Linked DNA regions of Homo sapiens: region 2 is linked to region 1. The links are contacts of gene promoters, found by promoter capture Hi-C in blood cells and fetal thymus (Javierre and others, 2016). All regions are on one chromosome and are shown on one strand. The core of a region is centred on a gene start or on the middle of the fragment in contact, and the rest is flanking DNA. Distances in the headings are between cores, read along the strand shown.

The links. The method cuts DNA at HindIII sites, captures the fragments that hold promoters and counts their contacts. A CHiCAGO score of 5 or more calls a contact.
Region 2: a fragment that was not itself captured here is called in contact with the fragment with the promoter of RPS6KL1 in region 1 in 1 of 17 cell types (endothelial precursors); the score reaches 5.5 in endothelial precursors.

Annotation. Positions count from the first base shown.
Region 1 is chr14:74,921,815-74,924,514 of GRCh38, forward strand. RPS6KL1 (ribosomal protein S6 kinase like 1) reads right to left here and starts at 1,446. Exons shown (of 12, transcript NM_031464.5): 1 at 1,366-1,446; 2 at 164-671. RefSeq lists enhancers at 199-970, 971-1,741 and silencers at 1,112-1,521, 1,612-1,671. The HindIII fragment of the contact is 5,428 bases long and covers 398-2,700 here.
Region 2 is chr14:75,046,970-75,049,669 of GRCh38, forward strand. MLH3 (mutL homolog 3) reads right to left here. Exons shown (of 13, transcript NM_001040108.2): 2 at 1-2,700. The coding sequence starts at 2,686. Among named protein-coding and RNA genes, the nearest start is that of MLH3, 3.1 kb to the right of the region's middle. The HindIII fragment of the contact is 1,843 bases long and covers 448-2,290 here.

The sequences.
Region 1 (2,700 bases), core at 196-2,695:
TCACCCAGGCTGGATTGCAGTGGTGCGATCTCGGCTCACTGCAACCTCCACTTCCCAGGTTCAAGCAATTCTCCTGCCTCAGCATCCCAAGTAGCTGGGATTACAGGCACTTGCCTACCACACCTGGCTATGTTTTGTATTTGTAGTAGAGACGGGGTTTTACCATGTTGGCCAGGCTGGTCTTGAACTCCTGACCTCAAGTGATCCGTCTGCCTCGGCCTCCCACAGTGCTGGGATTATAGACGTGAGCCACCGCGCAGGCCTGGGGCTCTGTTTTCCTTTCCAGTCAAATTCAGTTCAGCAAACATTTCTGGAGCATCTGGTACTGTGTTGAGCTCTGGAGAGAGCTGAGGATATCTGTGATCCACAGCCACCTTCACAGGGCCTCCGTAGAGCAAGCTTGGTATCCAGTACGCATTCAGCACATGGAGGCCACACACGCTGGGCTCAAATGCTGTTCCTCATGCTGTTCCCTCCACCCTGCCTGTTGTCTCCTCCCTGCTCCTCCTGTGGGAATCTCATTTACCCTTTGGGGTTTAGCACTTCTCCGTGGACCGGATGGATTGCCCCTGCTGTGTTTTGTTCCCTTGGTCCTGAGGTCAGTGTGGTCAGCGAGTGAGGACCCCTCCTGGAGCCAGCAGAGAGCAGAGCACAGAGCTGGGCTGTAAGAACTGTTGGCAGACGGAATGACTGAGTGGCAGACTCGGTGCCACGTTGGATGGGGGGTAGAAGAGGGCAGGGTGACCCAGCCCCAGGGAGGGTCGCTCTGTCCTCCTGGCTTTACTTTTGAGAAGGTCATGTGGCCTCCAAGGACCTGACAGCAGCTTCTTCCTGAGCAATGTGTGACCCAGGCGGCCAAAGGGATGACAGCCGTGGCTGCGGGAAGGGAAGGGGCTCAGAGAGAGGCCCACAAAGCTACCCCGCCTTTGCTCTCCCAGGTCCCACTGGGAATGGGCAGGACCCGGAACTTCCAACCCCAGGTCATTTGGAGAGAAAGAGGAGAGAGCAGGATGGGCGGTGGGGCGGGGAGGGAGACCCACAGCCTCAGCCGGCGGGGAGCTGAATCCCGGCCAGGATGCGGCCAGGAGGCAGAGGGAGGCCGCACCATCCCTGCTCGGCCAAGCCCAGGGGAACTTGAGGCTCTGAGGCCTTGCTCTGGGGGGTGCCCGGGTAGGACTGGCTTCAGGGTCCACCCCGCCGGGCAGGGTCCTGCCGGGCAGAGCCGCCGGCCCCGCCTGGACACAGAAAGCGGCGCGTGCAACCCACGGGGCCCCAGCCGCAAGGTGCACGGTCCCAGGGTGGAGGGACGGCCGAGGGGGCCCCTCGCCTGGGAGGGTGGAGAAGGGACCGGACAAAACACCGTACCTGCCCGAGCTGGGAGCCGGGTCCGCGGGCCAGGCCTCCCCCTCACGTACCGGCCCTTCACGCCAGAGCGCGCCGCGGGCCGCTGCTTTCCGGCATCCAGCGTGCGGGGCCAGCCGGTGCAGCGCGGCCATTGGCTGCGGATGAGCTCATACTTGAGCCTTAGAATAAACCACCAATCACCGCCCGGCTCGGCTCCTGCCGGCCTTAAAGCCGCAAGGTCTGCACGGCTGGGCTGTGAGGGGCGGGGGGCGGTTTAGAGAGGGGAGGGTGGGATGGGATGTGGGGTGGGTGGGGAGAGCAGGTCTAGAATCATCCAGGGATGCGGAAGGGGCTGCTTCAGAAATCTAGACGTGCCACTTCTAGGACTTTTCTCATTCATTGCTTCATTCATTTATTCAACGATTCAATGCTATGTATTGAGAGTCTCCCATGCATGAGGAGCTGGATGTTGAGATACAGCCGTGAACTAGACAGCGCTGTTTACATCCGCATGGGGCTTACAGTCTAGTGAGGGCTACCGAGAGTAAAGAACCCAGCAATAGAAGGCTTTTGATATCAGAACCGAGCTTAAAATTCAAGACATAGGCCGGGTGCGGTGGCTCATGCCTGTAATCTCTGCATTATGGAAGGCTGAGGCGGGAGGATCATTTGAACCTAGGAGTTCAAGACCAGCCTGGGCAACATAGGTAGACCCAATCTCTATAAAAATTACAAAATTTAGCTGGGCATGGTGGCGTGTGCCTGTGGTCCCAGTTACTCAGGAGGCTGAGGTGGGAGGATGGAGTGAGCTCGGGAGGTTGAGGCTGCAGCGAGCCGAGATCGTGTCACTGCACTCCAGCCTGGGTGATGGGGCAACAGATCACAGGCAACCCTGTGACACAGATCTCACCTGCAGGTTCAGTGCTGACTGGCTTCACACTGTCCCCCGGCTGCACTTGCTCTACCTTAGACACCCTTTCATACTTTCTCCCTCTGACTCCCACCCGTCCCCCTATCCTCACTCTCAGCCAGCACTGTTGCTTCATCCTTCCCTTGACAGCAGTGGCGCACAGACTCCCACAGGCTTGCTCTTGGCCCGCGGGCGGGGCTGTGCCCACACTCTGCTTCCAACCTTTTTCCACAGGTGACTGTCTGTGCCCCATCGAAGGCCACCCTTCCAGGTGGGCATCAGTCCCGTGCCATCACCTACTCAGCGACACCACTCCAGCGATTCTCCCGTCTCTCCCACTAGATAATTCCCACCTGATACAAACATAATGCTTGTTTCTCCCCTCTTAAAAGCAAAACAAGAAAACAAACCAAAATACACTCTAGGCCTCACTTCTTTACCTACCA
Region 2 (2,700 bases), core at 119-2,618, 130 kb after region 1:
AACGACTCATCATCCCCATTGTTTGAGTTTCTCTTTCGGAACCCTTCAGTCTGGATAATTTAGAGGCTAGTGATTCAGATGACTTCTCAAGGTCCAAAGGTTTTCTATTAAAGAGAGATAACTCCTTCAGGGTCATAGGACTTTCTCTCAAACTAGGCATCTGTTGTTCTAAACAATCTTCATCCTTGGAGAATGGAAACTTCTCTGAGTTAAGGATGTGGCTTGCTGGTTGACAACTACTATCTGAATCACTATGCTCCATAGTAGTGATTTTACAAACATCAGAGTTCTCTAAGCGGTTCTTGTCCTTCAGCAGAATGTCAGGTTCAACTTGAAGACTGAGATTGGTAGTGACTCCATTACTTTCCTCTACTTCTGTATCCAGAGGATTTTCAACCTTCCCATATTGCCTCTTAAACTTCTCTAAAGATCCTAGCTGTGAACTCAAGCTTAGCTTCTTACGGACGATTGGTTTGGAGAAACCAATTAATTTATCTGTTTTCCTACTATCATTGGAAACGTGTCTATACCAGGGGAAAGAGGGGGATGTATCAGATAATATGCAATCTGTTTGTGATTTTTTGCTACCTTCCTGAAAAGCAGAAAACATTGTATAAGTTGCTGTAGGTTCATTCTCTAGCCCATAACTTATATTCGTTCTGCAATTTTTTTTGTTGGGCAATTGACCAGATTCTTTACTTAAAGTGCTGGCTAAATCTTTGATGTCTGGAGTTTCAACTGAATGACGTGTTCTATTTCCAAATGTTTCTTGGGCACGTGTGGGACCAGGTCTAACATAATTTTTAAATGAATGTTCTGTTTCAGTTGATTTAGTTTTTTCATTTTGTACTACATGAGTTATAAAGCCAGTGGAACATAATTTAACTCGCCCATAACTAAAAACATTTCTTCTTCCACAATTGCTAGATTCTTTTTTTTTCTCTTTCTCTGTCTGAGCACTATGTACTCCCCATAATGTTGTTGCAAAAGGCAGAGGCTGGCATCCCACTTCAGTAGCATCTTTAAATCTCTTTGGTTGATTCTGAATTCTATTATTTTTCAAGATGTTGGCAGCCATGCCATTAACAGTAGTACTTTCTTTCCATATTTCTAGATCCTGCCCACTCTCCTCAAAGTGACATGGTGTCTGAAAAGGGCTTAAAAACATTTCTAAACTGGTTCCACACGGATTTTCTAAAGAGCTATGTTCCAGGAAAGATTTTTTATGTTTCTCATTTTCTCCAGCTTCTGATGCTACAATTGTCTCTTGTTCTAACATCTTTGATTCTGAGCAAGAGCTGTCTTTGTTTTGTAAAGATGGCTCTGTCATTTTGCTATGGCCTGGACCACCTGATTCATAAATGTACAAAAATGCATCATTTGTATTTTTTCTGGTAGCTTCTGAATCCCTAGAACTCTGTGTGTTTACGTTTTCTGCAGTAGTTTTTCTTTTCACAGCTTTTGACTGCAAATTAAACATCTCATAGGAATCTAAAATATTATTACATGCTTCCTGGAAATTGCTCCTCTCATCGGAAGTCACACGCTTCTGAAGAGTAGCATCAAATAAACTAAAACCATTATCTTCACTAAATTCCTTAATATCCTCACCTGATAATTCCACAAATAATTTTTCTTGCTTTAAAAACATTTTCACTCCTTCCTGAATGCAAAACAAGAGAGTGTCCCAGTTCTGAAATTCAATCAGAGTTTTGGCTGGCTCCATGCACACATCATACTCACAGAATTGGCACTGCACATTAATTACATATATGCCATAGAGTTCTGGGGTAGACCGGTGCCGAAGACTTGAATTCATTTGCCTACTGGTGGGACCATTCTTTGGCTTGCATATAATACTTTCTTTCCTTAATAAAAAGTCAATGAGTTTATGTAGCTTTGTCCTTAAAACTAGTCTTTTGTTCACAAACAAAAACTGCATATTCTTGTTGTAATGTGCTTCAGAGCTGATATAGCCACTAAGCTCAAACTCTTTATATTTAAAACTTATTTCTCTTAGCTTTTGGGACTTTCCCAATCCATAAATTTGACAAAATCGGGAACATACGTCTTTGGTTTTAGGGAGCTGAAGAACCATGGAACCAGAAACATCATTTCTCAAAGAGAAAGAAATGGAAGGGTGCATGAGTGAGAGAGCTTCTATTCTCTGCCTAACCTTCTCAAACTCCAGTCTAGGGTCCATGCATTTCCTCCTTACAGGAAGCTGGTAAAATAGGTTATACACTGTTACAGTAGTCCCAGCGCTTGCTCTAGTCACATCAGCTTCACAAGCTTTCAGGGCTTTTCCACTCTGAAACAGTTTCACAAAAGTTTTCATTGTCCTGTTTTTCTTGGACGAAATTTCCACAGCACTGGCCATGTCAGCAATATTTGCCAAGGCCTCTCCTCGGAAACCATAAAACCTTGGATTCTCCAAGTCCTGTACCGAGTGGCATTTACTGGTGAAATAACGATTTCCCACTTTCTCTACATCATCACTCCCCATCCCAAATCCATTGTCTATCACTTGAACTTGGAAGGTTTCCATATTCACCCTGACAGCCACACATTTTGCTTCAGCATCAATACTGTTGAGGGCAAGTTCCTCAACACATTGGCCCAAGGAGCTTATGGCCAAACCAGAACGCAATTTGGCTTGTACTTCAACTGACAAGCACTTGATCATGGTAGGTAGAAAGA